5 separate regions of the Homo sapiens genome follow, and regions 2, 3, 4 and 5 are each linked to region 1. The links are contacts of gene promoters, found by promoter capture Hi-C in blood cells and fetal thymus (Javierre and others, 2016). All regions are on one chromosome and are shown on one strand. The core of a region is centred on a gene start or on the middle of the fragment in contact, and the rest is flanking DNA. Distances in the headings are between cores, read along the strand shown. Region 1 holds the start of SUCO (SUN domain containing ossification factor). Region 2 has its middle 5.4 kb from the start of SCYL3. Region 3 overlaps CACYBP (calcyclin binding protein). Region 4 overlaps RABGAP1L (RAB GTPase activating protein 1 like). Region 5 overlaps RABGAP1L (RAB GTPase activating protein 1 like).

Region 1 (2,842 bases), core at 204-2,703:
CTCAAAAACTTCTATCATTCTTCCAATAAAAATCCCTCAGCCAGGCGAGTGTTTTCTCTTCCCCTTGTTTATGTATTATTTTATGTGAGCAACAACTCTACAATTTCAGTGCTTCTGGAATCCATAAGGCATCCATAAAAATGAAAATAGTGTTGGTGCTTTGCAGAAATAAGCAAAACAGGAAACTTAATTTCTATTTTAATATAACAAACAGCAAATCGCCTAGACTGAAGAAGCATCTTTTCAGTCATCAATTGTCACACATCTTTGAAGAAATTCCCTGGGAGGAAAGAATGGCTTTTCCAAGTACGGTGACAGCAGTCCCTCGACTTACAAGCTTTCTCTGCTCCTCAAAAAACTCCAGAAGTGCCTGGGATTAACAGAAACTCCGTAAAACTTAAGGAGTGCTTTAGGGACAAAGCACTCTTCCCGCCTTGAAAATACAGCATTTACCTTCCCGTCACTAAGGGGCATTACCAAAAACTACTACACACACTACATCTAAGACACCCTCTCCACCAAACCAATTGAAAAAGTGCTTCATAACACACATACACACACGCCCCCCAAGTTTCCAAAAACAGCGGCCCGAGTGTACTTGGGATCAAACGCTGTGCGAGAAATGTCCAGGAGAACTACTGCTTATACATTACTCTTACCTTCATGACCACTCACGTTTTAAAATCGCACGTCCGGAACGCATCACATCCGACGTGCTTTATCCCCTTACCACACTAAGAACGCAAAGACTGGCGGCAAATCGGAGCAACTTACTTACCATCAATCTGAACACCCACCCCAAACCCTGCACCGTCTCCAAGGGGTAGAGGAACTGAGTACAAAGGCACTTGGTGGTTCCCTCTACCTTGGCACCTCTCTCTCTCCCACTGAGTCTCTGTAAATTCCAAAATACACCATGAAAATCTCCGCACAGAGCACTACCAGACCAGTCAGATGGAGAGTCGAGAAGTAATCGGTTTGTCCCTTCCACGGGGGCCTTGGAAACCCGGACCCTAAAAGCCAAAATGACCAGGGGGTGTGACCTGGGCTGCTCCCTCCCATTTACTCCCCTCACGGGAACTCCCTTGTCGTCGCGGCTACTCACCAGACCAGAGAGCACAGAAAGAGGCAGGAGACCAGGGCCAAGGCCCGCCGGTGCTTCTTCATCTTCTCCTCCTTCTTCCCCCTGCCAGAAGGCGGCACATCCTCCCGGCAGCCGCCACTGCCGAGGCCAAGATGGAGGAGCCGGAGCAGGAGCGCGAGAATGTGACCGATAGTCCTAAGGGCTATGGCGCTGGCTGAGCGGCTCCTCAGTGGCTCGCGTCCTGGCAGCCCTCTCTGAGGGCCCCACAGAGGCGCGGACAGGGGCGCTTCACAGGACTCCGGGGACCGCCGCCGCTGCAGCCACCGGCTCGTCCACGCCCGCCTCCTGCAGCCGCCACTGCCGCCCCATATCCTCCCCGCCCGCCGGGGGCCTTGCTCCGTGAGGCCAGCGACCAACGGCCGCCGCGTACTCGCCTCTCAACAGCCAATCGCCGGCGGGGCCGCGACACCTCACACACCGCTGAGCTGGAAAGGGACGCGTCACCCAAGTCCCGCGGCGCCCGCACCCCCACCAGCCTCTGCGCAGGCCACGCCCCCTTCGACGTCGCAGGCGGAGAAGCCGGAGGCAGGAGACCACAAAGCGCAGGAGCAGATGCTCTCGCCGCTCCGCCCGCCCCAGGTCCCGCCCACTTGCTGGCTTGCGTTCAGAAAGCCGGGAGGAGCCCAGTGATCCTCAGCATTTCCCCTTACAGTGGACCGCCCTTCGTCCCTCGCGCGCTGAGTCCGCGCAAGGGCCTTTGGGAGTTGTAGTTTGCCTTCCAGAATTCGTTTTTCTCTTTCCCAGTCCCTCCTAGAATCCATGGTTTTGTTAGAGAAGTCTATAGTTTCGCTGCTCACCACGAGACTGATCAGCTTTGGAACTGTTGCACTGTTTTCCTCTTTTGAGCACAGTTCGTGGAATGGCCTAGAATGACGTGTGTGTTGTGAGGGAAGCTGCACCAAGCCCTTTCCCTGTGGCAATGGACTGCCCCATTGAGCTAGATGTTGATTGGTAGATAGAAAGGGGCGTGCCAAGAATCCTCTCATCTGATTGGTTGCAGCGGAAAACCTTTCGCTTTTTCTTCTCTTCAGCAAGAATTTCGCCGCTTGCCGGGTTCCTCACTTTAAGTGTGCTTCGTTGCTTTTCGTTCTGTTGGTTTCGAACTTTGGGTTCTCTGCGATGGAGTCGGAAGGGAGGAGTTGTCCCCATTAGAGGAGCACCCACAGACGCTCCAAGTCCTGGGGTTCACCTAAAGTGGGGAAGGCAGTCGCTTACACTCACCTAAGAAGAGCAAAAAGTGACCACTTCTCAATACTAAGTAACGGGGCAGCATGCCCATTCCAAGTGTTTACGCCGCTGAGGGGACGGAGGCTGCAATGGTCTGTGCCTTGGAACATGGCATAATGTTTAGTGTGAAAAATGTTTAAAGGACGGGTTACTTATTGTTCATGTGGCCGTAGGGAAAAAACCCTCAGTAAAATGCCCACCTAACGCCTAATTTTGAGCCGCGGAATTTCCTTATGAACCTTCTAAGTTGAATTGGATGTTAATTATAGTCCCAAAGAACTGAATGATTTGATCCGCTCTGTGATTCTTGGATATAAGTCAATTTGATGTTAGAGAAATTATACAAAGGGTGATAATTTTTGTTTTAAAGGAGTTCACCCTGAACTGCCTTTTCTGGCAGTAATTAGGTACAGTTCCACTTATCTGCTGATGCCACTCTTAGTATATGACAATAAAATCCTTTCATCTGTC
Region 2 (2,842 bases), core at 104-2,603, 2.6 Mb after region 1:
CATTAAGATGATTTGCTGTGCTGGACAAACTTATTTACATCTCTAGTGGATGAAAATGAAAAAGTTAGCCTCTGCCCCTAAAAAGGTAATAAAGAAGTAGTAAAATAACCTAGTCAATAGGAATTTAATCCAGAATTGCATGGGAAGAAAGCCACAGTAACCTCTTTTGCCTATTTTAAAGTTTCAGATAATTGTTTTCTCTCAAAACCAAAAGCCATAATACATAAGCAAATTGTCATATTTCATCAAATATATGATGCCATCACATTTAGGAAGCATCAATATATTTGGTACCACTAAGAAAAAATTATTGACAAATTATATTATGCCATTTGTGGTAAAATGCATTCTGACCTTCAGGGATGTTAAAATGTGAAAAACTATAGTTTTTACAATCTAGAAAATACAGTATATGGCTGTTTATAAGACGGTCAGTGCTATGGAGGGAAAAAGCAAAAGAAAACAGGATAGGAAGCACCAGGAGTGTAGCAGGAAGGAAGGTAAACGTTGTAGAATTAGATAGGGTGGATCAGGACAGACTTCATTGAGAAGACGAGATCTGAACAAAAAATAGAAGTAACAGACTTAGTCAAATGGACATGTGGGAAAAGAGAATGACAGGAAAAGGAAGCGCTAGAGCAAAAGTCCTAAGGCAAGAGCTCACCTGGCATGCTGACAGGACAGCAAGGAGGCCACTGAGCATGGACCAGAGTTAGTGAGCAGGAGGATAGCAGTGAGGCCAAAGGAGGGAGGCCTTAGATCATTTAGGGCAGTTCTCAAACCTTCCTGCAAGGAAGGTGCCTGCAAATCACCTAAAGATCCTGTTAAAATGTAGATTCTGACTCGACAATCTAGCGTGAGGCCTCAGCTTTTGCATTTTTAACATGCTTCCAGAGGATGCTCATGTTGCCTTCAAATATTAATTAACCACCCCTACAGGATAGATCTAAGTTAGTACACATCTGTATCTCCCTGAAGGCTGAAGTATTTCAAAGAAGAGGTAGATATATAATGCACACATTGTTTGCCCCAAATCTTTCTCCCAGGAGTATGATTCCAAGATGATTCATGGCTCTTTGAAGTTGAGAAGCAATTCACACTTCAGAGGCTTTTAGCATCTGAAAGATTTCAATGAGAAGTCTATACTCCTGGGGCAGATACTACAAACACTTCAGCTATCTCTAACTCAGATCAATACTAGTGGCTTTAAGGATGTTTAAAAGTGAATTTTCATGGCCAAAATAAGTAATTTCAAGATGGACAGAATGAATAGAAATGTTGCCATGCCTTACATGATCAGAGTATGAGAATCTAGTGAGTCTAGCAATCTACACACTTTGGAAAGGTGCCCTAGATTTAGGATTTCAGACCAGCCCCATATGGAGAAGATTACAAGAAGATTTTGTCACCCAGCTCTAATGAGGATAGCTGAGTCTGCTATTAGAATACTGTCCCATCTTCCTGCAGTGGATGGACCTTTCATGCAAGATGCTATTCAAGCTCCTACACAAGGAAGTGGAACCTCACTGAGTTTGTATAACAGCTCTACTGCCTGTCTTTAAACCTTGCTAATAAACGTGTGAATGTGTAGAATCCCACCTCAGACTTGCTTTCATTCTCTCTTTGTAGTGGTAGCAAGGTTATGGTGGAACTTAGAAAACACATACTTCTCATTAGAGAAATCTTCCAATATCTATGCAAAGTTCCTAAAAACAACGAGAGAACAAAGTGGCTTAGGTCCAGTTCAGTTTTCTATAAGGTATCCACTACTTATGGATGCTATATGTATTTATCTGAAATGTGCCTGAAGGAGGGTTTGTCATTCATGCAAGTTTCCCCCTTTACACTTCCAGATTCTAATTGCAATTATGCAATTACACAAATTATTGAGGTAGAACATTAAATAGAAATCACTTGAATAACTTTTACTCTCTTTGGTTTTCAGGTAGAGCTTGTAAAAAAGTTAGTTCAAATCAAGTTGGAAAAAAATAATTAAGTTGGATGGCTAAGGCTTTTATAGAACCAGGAATATATCCAAGATACTTATAGTCTACTTGGGAATCTAAGTTAGAAACATGAAAAAGATTAATTAAAAAAACACCTAAAAGTCAAGCTGAATACCATTGACATGTTTTGATTTGAATTAAGAAGAGGATTGGTTGGAAGTAAAATTCAGGTTGATCCTTAAACAGTATGACAAGAAAAAATTATTTCTATTAAGAAAACAAACTATTTGTTTCTAACTGTCCCACCAGCCACATTCCAAGGACAGCGGATTCAGGTTGTTGGAGATTCTTTTCTTTCCTGGCCTTAGACATATTTAAAATGAGGACTGAGGAATCAGTGAGGGAATACAAGATTTCTATGCATAAGAAAGGCAGAAGGAGCTCAGAGAGCAGCTCCAGGGAACTGAGAACTGGAACCAGAGCTATAGAGGGCTCTGTGGGGTAAGGGCTGGGAGGCAGAGAGATGTAGGGAGGGTGCCTGGGACATGCAGTGTGCTCTCAGTAAATTCATTTGTGTGTTTAATATTTACTGAGTACCTAGTATGTTCTAGGCACTGTGTTATGTGCTAGAAATATGGCAGGAAAGAAAGAAATGAAGGAAGGAAGCCCTGTTTTCAGGGAGCTGATGTTCTAGCTGTGGGACAGAGATGCTGAACAAATATGTGCATTGGTGTTAAGCAAAATAAGGCAAAGTCAAAAGACAGGAAGAGGCAGGTAAGGTGCTGTTTTAGACAGTGTTTTCAGGGGAGCTGTCTCTGATAAATTGCATTCAAGTAGAATTTTCAAAATATAATTATAACTCTCATGCAAATATAAAATGAACACATTAGTTAATG
Region 3 (2,842 bases), core at 208-2,707, 2.5 Mb before region 1:
ACACAGACTCAAAACTCATTGGGGATGAATTTGTTAGACCACTATGAGGAATAGGTTGCTCGGAGGCAGAACTGGCTATAGGGAAGCAAGTCATACCATAATTACTGATTTTCACCGTATAGCCCGTTGTAATGGGAGCAACCACAGCAGCTGGTTTTTCATTATCAAGAAGTTCTGCTTTCTTCTGTGATTTCTGTTGCATCTTGTTCTTGATTTCTGTCTCAATCTTGGATTTTTCAGCTGTAAGGGCATCACGTACTCTTTTCCTAGTAGCCTTTTCCAGCAACACCTTTACCTCTTCTAGATCTTTCTGTAGCTGTGTTAAGACAAAAAATAAGTTAGCTATGATAAATAAGGAAATGGCTTGATATTGTGCGTATCACTCATTTCAACTTACTGAAATAAGCACTAAGAATTAAGAAGTTCATCTAAATTTTCTAGGATTGAGTTGCAACTTCAATTCTTCCATCTGGCTTATTAACTGTAATTAACTCAAGCTTCCTTTTTTTCAAAAGGAAAACTTTGAACAATCTTGAACAAACAATAAATAGGTCTTCAAACCTAAATTTTCCAGTTTATGTTTTAAAATATTTACAAGAAACGTCTGCGACCTAAAAAGTAAAACAAAGAACTTTTTTTTGACAAAGGATTCATAGATTTCCTTGTAACATCTAATCCGAGTGTCATTAGATGTTAGACACTTTTAAAATATTTAAGAGATGAGAGAACATGCAGTGACCATGGTAAAATGCTTTTATAGCAAACTTAACTGAGGTAATGAATGCTCCACTTTCTGTCACTGATTGGTCTTCATTATCTTCCCACCTCAAATACCTCACATAAAAAAAGTCTTAATTTTTAAGACAAAAGATAAAAAAAAAAATTTCTGCTTTTGAGGAAAAGTCTTGCTCTGAAGCTGGGTCAGTCTTACACTCAGAAGTGTAGGAGTTGGTTGCACAGAAGGTGACAAAAGACCGAAAATGCAACATACTCTTGGAAATTATCTTTTGAAAAAGCCACCACGTTCTCATTTTCTTCTCTTGCCAATCCATCATCTATTAAAGTCTACTACTTTCTACTTTCTAGAGATAGAGGCAACATTTTATGAAATTCAAGAGTTAAAGACAATGTTAGAAAATTATTGAGCCTAAGTTTTTTTTCCCCCAATTACCCTCTGACATACTGCAAATACACAAGATCTTTCCAAACAGCTGTTTCACTTTTCTTACAATAACTTTACACTCTGGCTTGACACTACCAACTTGACCAAAAAAATCTTGTGTCACAGCTTGATATCAAAAGCTCAATTTAAAAAAGTCTTTTAGTGCTTTATAACTCAGAATATCAGACGCACAACAGAGTTTGAAAGCCTGTTTCTTAATAGTCTTATAAAATGCAATAACAGAACTAATTCTTTTCTTTTACTACAAGTCTTTTGTTATCTCATTTAACTCAGATGCCCTAGTTTTGCCTATCTATAACAGATGACATGGTATAAAAAGTTCAACTCTGGCCAGGTGCAGTGGCTCACACCTGTAATCCCAGTACTTTGGGAGGCCAAAGCGGGTGGATCACTTGAGGTTAGGGGTTCGAGACCAACATGACCAACACGGCGAAAGCCCGTCTCTACTTAAAATTCAAAAATTTGCCGGGTGTGGTGGCACGTGCCTGTAATCCCAGCTACTCGGGAAGCTGAGGCAGAAGAATCGCTTGAACCCGGGAGGCAAAGGTTGCAGTGACCCGAGATCGCGCCATTGCACTCCAGCCCGGGCAACAAGAGCAAAACTCGGTCTCCCAAAAAAAAAAAAAAATCAACTCTGCCCAACCCTCTTGTCCACACTCTCGACCCTTCCAAGAACAGCTCATATTACTATGACAAAAAATCTTGCAAACTCATCTTTTGAGCATAGAACCAAAATGTTTCAGTTCAAAGTAATATTTTTATTGTAATGGTTTCAAAAAAACGCTGATTCTACAACTCCTAATTCATAATAAAAATATTGAAATGTAAAATGAAATATATTAAGTCTAAGCAAGAGGTTTTGCTTTTTGACTGAAATAGGAATACTTTATCTAGCAGAATGAGAAAGGTACTTCGAATTAGGCAAGGGATTCCCCCAATGGCTGAATTCCCAAGCCCTCTTTATTGCCAGTTTTGACTCTAAAGTACTCTTTTTATTATGAAGTATCCACTGAAAAAACTTAAAACTGAGACAGTTCCTCAGTTCTGTTATTGGCAGACTTGAAACCAACAAAGGTGATTCCTTTGATGCTTTTTCTGCACAAATACTTTAAGATGTCCTAGTTTCCTATCTAATTTATCATGTAATTTTCCTTGCCTTCTTGGCATGTGTTTGTTTTACGTATATAAAAATTTTATTTCTCTTTTATCCCTACCCATAAGGCATTCAAGCTTTATCTTCCTATTTCCTAATTTTTCACTAGGAGGCATTAACACCAATGTGCCTCAAAAATGGGCAAAGGAATTCAACACACATTTCTCCAAAGACACAGAAATGGACACCAAGAACATTAAAGATGCTCAACATCTTCATCATTGGGTAAACGCATATCAAATTCCCAAGATGCCACTTCACACCCAGTAGGATGGTATCATAAACCGAAAAAGAAAAATAAAACACCCCAGAAAATAACAAATGTTGATAATGATGTGGAGAAACTTTCAGAAGCTTCAAACATTTCTTACAGGAATATGATGCAACCACTCTGGAAACAGTCTAACAGTTTCTCAGAAAGTTACCATATGAACCAGTAATTCCACTCCTAGGTATATACCCCAGAGAACTGAAAACACATCCACACAAAAAACTTGGATACAGTA
Region 4 (2,842 bases), core at 164-2,663, 2.5 Mb before region 1:
AGAAAAAAAGAAAGGAAGGATTGGTTTTTAGGTGACCTTGAGGATAGAAGTCCACATGACGATGTAGGTCACTAATGACTGATTAGCTTGGGTTACTAATGACACCAAAGATATACCTTTCTAGTCCTAGGCTGCTTTTATGTAAAATAATCAACACCTTTTATGTTTAAGCCAATGCTATTTTGGGTTCCCTATATGTGGCCAATCTAATTCTGCATTGATACACAGAGTGATAGTCAAATATCACTTTATATTTGGGAACACTCATTCTGATTATAGTGTAAAGGATGAACTGGGGGGTGATCATGACAAAAGAAGGTTATTACAGGAAACTGAAAAAACCAAAAGCTATTTATCATACCAAATGAGATAGGAGGAAGCACTAGAGAAAGGGGAGGTAGTATAGTCTAACAGCTAATGTTATTGACTTTAGAGTCTGACTTCCAGGCTTAAATCCTGGTTCTACTAGCTGTGTAACCTTGATCAAATGAATTACCTGTTTGCGACCTTATCATCAATAAAAAAGAAGCTTTACTGTCTTTTTCTTTTTTAATTTTGTACCAGGCTCTTACTGTCACCCAGGCTGGAGTGCCATGGCATGCTCACAGTTCACTGCAGCTTCAGCCTCCTGGGCTCAAGCGATCCTCCCACTTCAGCCTCCTGAGGAGCTGGGACTACAGGTGCATGCCACCACATCCGGCTAATTTTTGTATTTTTTGTAGAGACAGGGTTTCACCAAGTTTCCCAGTCCAGGAGTTTCACCAAGTTGAACTCCTGGACTCAAGTGATCCGCCCACCTCAGCCTCCCCAAAGTGTTGGAATGACAGGCGTGAGCCTAGTTGTTCTTCTTTATTCTGGCTAAGACAAGTTTACATTCCTCTTCCTGAATGTCATGGCCTTTCATTAGGTAGTCTCACCTACTTAGCCAATATTTTCCTCTGTTCCTTAATACATATTCTAATCACATCAGTCTCTGTAATGAGACACTGAAATACTCATTCCTGTGTTTGCGTCTTCACTCACATCATTTCTTCTATAATGTTCTGTTTAAACACTTCTCTCTAACTAATTTCTATCCACCCTGCTTTAGTCCAATCTCCATAAAGCCTTTTTTGGTCTATAGTTCTCATGATTTTGTTTTCTCTACAATGCTGATTGTCATTGTGATCCAACTTAGCACTTTTTTTGTTTGTTTTTTGTTTTTTTGAGATGGAATCTCACTCTGCTGCTCAGGCTGGAGTACAGTGGCACAATGTCGGCTCACTGCAACCTCTGCCTCCTGGGTTCAAGTGATTCTTGTGCCTCAGCCTCCAGAGTAGCTGAGATTACAGGTGTGAGCCACTATGCCTGGCTAATTTTTGTTATTTTTAGCAGAGACAGGGTTTCACCATGATGGCCAGGCTGGTCTTGAACGCCTGACCTCAGGTGATCTGCCCACCTCAGCCTCCCAAAGTGTTGGGATTACAGGCGTGAGCCACCACACCTGGCCCAACTTAGCTCCCTTGAACTGCTTCCGAAGTTCTTAATTTGCATGTATACATAACTTGTCCTACAGGAAAATTTTAAGCTCCTTTTCATGTGTAATTTCTATAACAAAATGGCAGTCTAATAGCTATGCACATAGTATATGCTCAATAAAACCTTTGCTGAATAATCAATATAAATTCTCATTTTGTTATTTCCATAAAGATTTCAGTTTAGCACTGAGAACACATGGACACAGAAGAGGGGAACAACACTCACCAGGGCCTGTTGTTGGGGGTGGGGACTGAGGGGAGGGAACTTAGAGGATGGGTTAACAGGCACAGCAAACCACCATGGCACACGTATACCTATGTAACAAACCTGCACCTTCTGCACATGTATCCCTTTTTTTTTTTTTTTTTTTTTGTTAGAAGAAATACAAAAAAAATTCACTTCAGGAGAGTTAACCCCTTTATGCCATTCAACTTCATCAACTGAATCTTGGTCAGTATGCCTATAATGTACAAAGAGTGGTAAGTGCTAACTAGAAAGAAGTGCAAAAGTAGACCAGAAAGGGAAGATACAAACATCAAATTTTAGCACATCAGAGAGGGAGAACACCAAACCTTATACTCACTAAATCTCTCATTGACATTTTGTAACATGAGTAAGAAGAAAATACTTTTGGAATACAAGGTCTTGTATGTCAGGTACTAATATAAGCACTTTATATACACTATGTACTTTATATTCATTATCTTATTTAACATTCAGAATGATTTTTTGAGGCAGGTAATGTTATCTCCATTTTATAGAACACAAAATGAAGCTTAAAAAGGTTAAATCACTTTTCAAGATTGCTAAATTACTTACTACACATTTATTTACTAGTATGAAACCTGAACATATTCAAATAAGATGATGTCAGGTTTCTGTAACACTGGTCCCAAAAGTTGACTATGACAATATTGCCTCTTAAGAATACCAATCCATTGGTTTACTGTTGTTTCTATGGAATAAGCAATCTGTTTTTTTCAAATAGAGCATCAACATAATGCATTTTACCACCAGGGGGCAGCAAGTAAACAAATGCCACAGGTTTTCTTTAAAAATAAACCTCTAAAAACTTAGTGCAAGAATCAGTTACCCAACACATGTTTTTCCAGCTAAGTTCTATATTGCCCATGGTGTTTACTTATAAAGAGAGTGATGGGATGATCCTACTGAGTCCCATACTGAAGCCACATCAATGCAGGCTCAGTCAGATGTGGGCTGCTGAGGGTTCTCAGGTTCATACCACTCTCATCTCAAGCTCTGGGGCTTCTTGTGACAATGTCAAATCCTACTTCCTTTCATGTTAGCTGCCTCTGACAGTCCA
Region 5 (2,842 bases), core at 239-2,738, 2.4 Mb before region 1:
CATAGACCAACTACTGTTTTCAATCATAGGTACAAAGACAATTAAAAAAAAAGAATATCCAATGAAATTGAACACCTACTAAAATATTTATGAAATGGCAATAACAAAAACAGACACTTCTTAATGCTCTTTTGCTTTTCCTTTGAGTGTCATATAACTCTAAGTTCTCTCTGTGACCGCAAACATTCAATGGAACAAAGATACTTGAGGTAGCCAGTGGGCAAGTCTCAACTCAGGAAGACTCATATCTTCAAACTCCTCCCTCTCCACATTGCTGTTTACAGTTTGCATGAATGACTAAAATGCTGTATGTGGGACTATTAAGGAACTACGGTGTGAGGTGTTGATACTGTGTTGTTAAAGCTGGGTGGAAGGAACTTCCTTATATGACAAGGTCAGAAATCTTGCAAAATAGTTCATCTTCAGACAAAAGAATGAAATTGCTGGGCAGGGCAATGCAAAAGAAAAATGGATCCTGGATCTCATGTGTACCTGGGGGCTGAAGTCTGGGTGAAGCGGTTCAAGGGATTGTGAACGTCATTTATTTCAAGATGAGAAACCAGAGAAATGTGAACTGTTAATTAAAAGTAAAGAAACTAAGCTTTAAAGGAAAAAATGACGAGGAGGGAGGCGGCTTTATAAACCCTAGCTCAATATTTTGGGTGTTGTCTGCTGCTATGATGAATTCTTGGCACATGCTTTTAAAGACTTTTAAGGGTCAGGAGAAAATGTTTTCCTAAAAGACTCAGTGCAAATTTATTAGCAACAACACACTCAACTCTCACATATTTTCTTTTGGATACCTCTTTTAAAAGAGTTGACAGCTATCATATTCAAGTTTTCAAATGCCTACAGATAAAATGTTTAAATATCTATGTTGTCCATAATGAAGATCTGAGAAAGAAAATATGGATATTTGAAGGTTTTGTGCTTCCCTCCTTTACTCATCACATCCAATTTTATCTTTGTAGTGGAAAATTTCAAATTTTTAAATGTCAAACTAAAAACAAAATCTTGTCAGTGATAAATGACAGCTGGCCAAACAGACTGCATTTCTTTCAGCGCTTAAAAAACTATCTTAGGTTATACTCTTGCACAGGGGTCAGCAAACTTCTAGTGTAAATTGCCAGAAAGTAACTATATTAGGCTTTGCAGGTCGCATGGTCTATGTTGAAATTTCTCAACTCTACAAATGTCATACAAAACCAGCCATACACTATAAATAAATAAACAGGTGTGGTTGTGTTCCAATAAAACTTGGTTTACAAAAACTGGCAGTGAGCCAGATTTGGCCTATAAACCACAGTCTGCAGATCCTTGCTCTACTCTAGTACACAAATCAAATTTTCAAAAAGCAGATGCATTCTAGATGATATAGAAACATATTAGTGTCAGGTAATTTTCTCAGTAATACTTAAACAGAAAAGAAAACTTTCTAAAAATTAATGAAAGTTTCTTGAAAACTCTGAAGATCACCAGTAAACATACTAGAAATTCTTAGTGTTCCTAAAGCATATTCTTCCCCCAAGGGTTAAGTATAAGGGACTCTAGCAGACCAGCATTGTTAGAAATCGCCCACTCCTTATTAGCTATATTGCTTGAGAAGCCAAAAGGATTTAGTTTTGCATCTTCACCATCCTATAACAATGAACTCTCTGGATTATCCAAGCTCAAAGAGAAAGTGGAAGACTTCTGAAGTTTATCATTAAGTTATCATAGGCATATATAAACCATCCTTGTGTCTATTACTATTCCTTAAAAGCACATTATTTCATAACATACTATTTCCAAAAGCCAACACAGTTTTTGGGATATGAAAAAATAATAAAATGTAAGTTTATTTGCTATGGCAGAAAAAAAATTTTTTTTTTTTTTGAGACGGAGTCTTGCTCTGTCACCCAGGCAGGAGTCCAGTGGCACGATCTCTGCCCACTGCAACCTCTGCCTCCCAGGTTCAAGAGGTTCTCCTGCCTCAGCCTACTGAGTAGCTGGGACTACAGGTTATGTGCCACCACACCCAGCTAATTTTTGTATTTTTAGTAGAGACAGGGTTTTACCATGTTGGCCAGGTTGGTCTTGAACTCCTGACCTCAAGTGATCCACCTGCCTTGGCCTCCCAAAGTGCTGGGATTACAGGTGTGAGCCACCACACCCAGCCAGAAAAACATTTTTCAAAGATGGATTCACTTATCTTGACTCCCCTGAGTAAGAAAGGGTCCAACAGTTTTTTTAAAAAGTCTACTCCCTCTTTTTTATAGGTAAGAAATGTATACTAATTTAAACTTTTATTTGTCAAGTTTAAAAGAAATGTGAAAATTACTCTAAACTATTGCATTAGATATTTAAGGATGGCAAAAAAGTACAATTAAGCTTTATTTCAAATATTTCATTTGTATTATTTTTACTATGCATAATAGCTTAATTTGAAATTACATGTAGGAGCAATTGCTCTACAAAAACCAGTATGTGCAAGAAAAAACTCTGTGGAAACATAGAGGAATCATTTTCTTTGTTTAAATTACATTTTGATTTTAAAAATTACTTTGTTTAATCTCAAGAATGAGGTTAAACATTCTAAATTTAATTGTACTGAACATGGATAAGACACTTCAATTAGAAATTATGTATTTATAATAATGTCTGTGTCCCAAACCCAAGAGAGTTTAAGCATTCCAGATTCTTTTAGTATTTTCCCATCTAGAACAGGTAACCTTTATTATGCTTTGGGAGATTCACTGAATTTAATTAACTAGCTGTGTGTGTGTGTGGGGGGGGGGTGTATTTTTATTTTTATTTTTTGAGACGGAGTCTCACTCTGTCGCCCAGGCTGGAGCGCAGTGGC

What was found. The method cuts DNA at HindIII sites, captures the fragments that hold promoters and counts their contacts. A CHiCAGO score of 5 or more calls a contact.
Region 2: a fragment that was not itself captured here is called in contact with the fragment with the promoter of SUCO in region 1 in 1 of 17 cell types (neutrophils); the score reaches 6.1 in neutrophils.
Region 3: a contact is called between a fragment that was not itself captured here and the fragment with the promoter of SUCO in region 1, in 8 of 17 cell types (total B cells, naive CD8 T cells, total CD8 T cells and 5 more). The highest score is 11.8, in total B cells.
Region 4: a fragment that was not itself captured here is called in contact with the fragment with the promoter of SUCO in region 1 in 1 of 17 cell types (neutrophils); the score reaches 8.2 in neutrophils.
Region 5: a contact is called between a fragment that was not itself captured here and the fragment with the promoter of SUCO in region 1, in 1 of 17 cell types (monocytes). The highest score is 7.3, in monocytes.

Annotation. Positions count from the first base shown.
Region 1 is chr1:172,531,761-172,534,602 of GRCh38, reverse strand. It overlaps SUCO (SUN domain containing ossification factor), which reads right to left and starts at 1,453. Exons shown (of 24, transcript NM_014283.5): 1 at 1,106-1,453. The coding sequence starts at 1,167. RefSeq lists enhancers at 1,065-1,224, 1,835-2,084, 2,145-2,254 and a silencer at 1,345-1,514. The HindIII fragment of the contact is 4,223 bases long and covers 340-2,842 here.
Region 2 is chr1:169,897,915-169,900,756 of GRCh38, reverse strand. No RefSeq gene overlaps it. Among named protein-coding and RNA genes, the nearest start is that of SCYL3, 5.4 kb to the right of the region's middle. The HindIII fragment of the contact is 5,358 bases long and covers 1-2,842 here.
Region 3 is chr1:175,002,088-175,004,929 of GRCh38, reverse strand. CACYBP (calcyclin binding protein) reads right to left here. Exons shown (of 6, transcript NM_014412.3): 2 at 97-316. Among named protein-coding and RNA genes, the nearest start is that of CACYBP, 3.6 kb to the right of the region's middle. The HindIII fragment of the contact is 1,916 bases long and covers 500-2,415 here.
Region 4 is chr1:174,983,106-174,985,947 of GRCh38, reverse strand. The region is part of intron 24 of RABGAP1L (RAB GTPase activating protein 1 like); the gene reads right to left. Among named protein-coding and RNA genes, the nearest start is that of CACYBP, 15 kb to the left of the region's middle. The HindIII fragment of the contact is 1,764 bases long and covers 532-2,295 here.
Region 5 is chr1:174,962,132-174,964,973 of GRCh38, reverse strand. All of the region lies in intron 20 of RABGAP1L (RAB GTPase activating protein 1 like), which reads right to left. Among named protein-coding and RNA genes, the nearest start is that of RABGAP1L-AS1, 9.3 kb to the right of the region's middle. The HindIII fragment of the contact is 1,769 bases long and covers 604-2,372 here.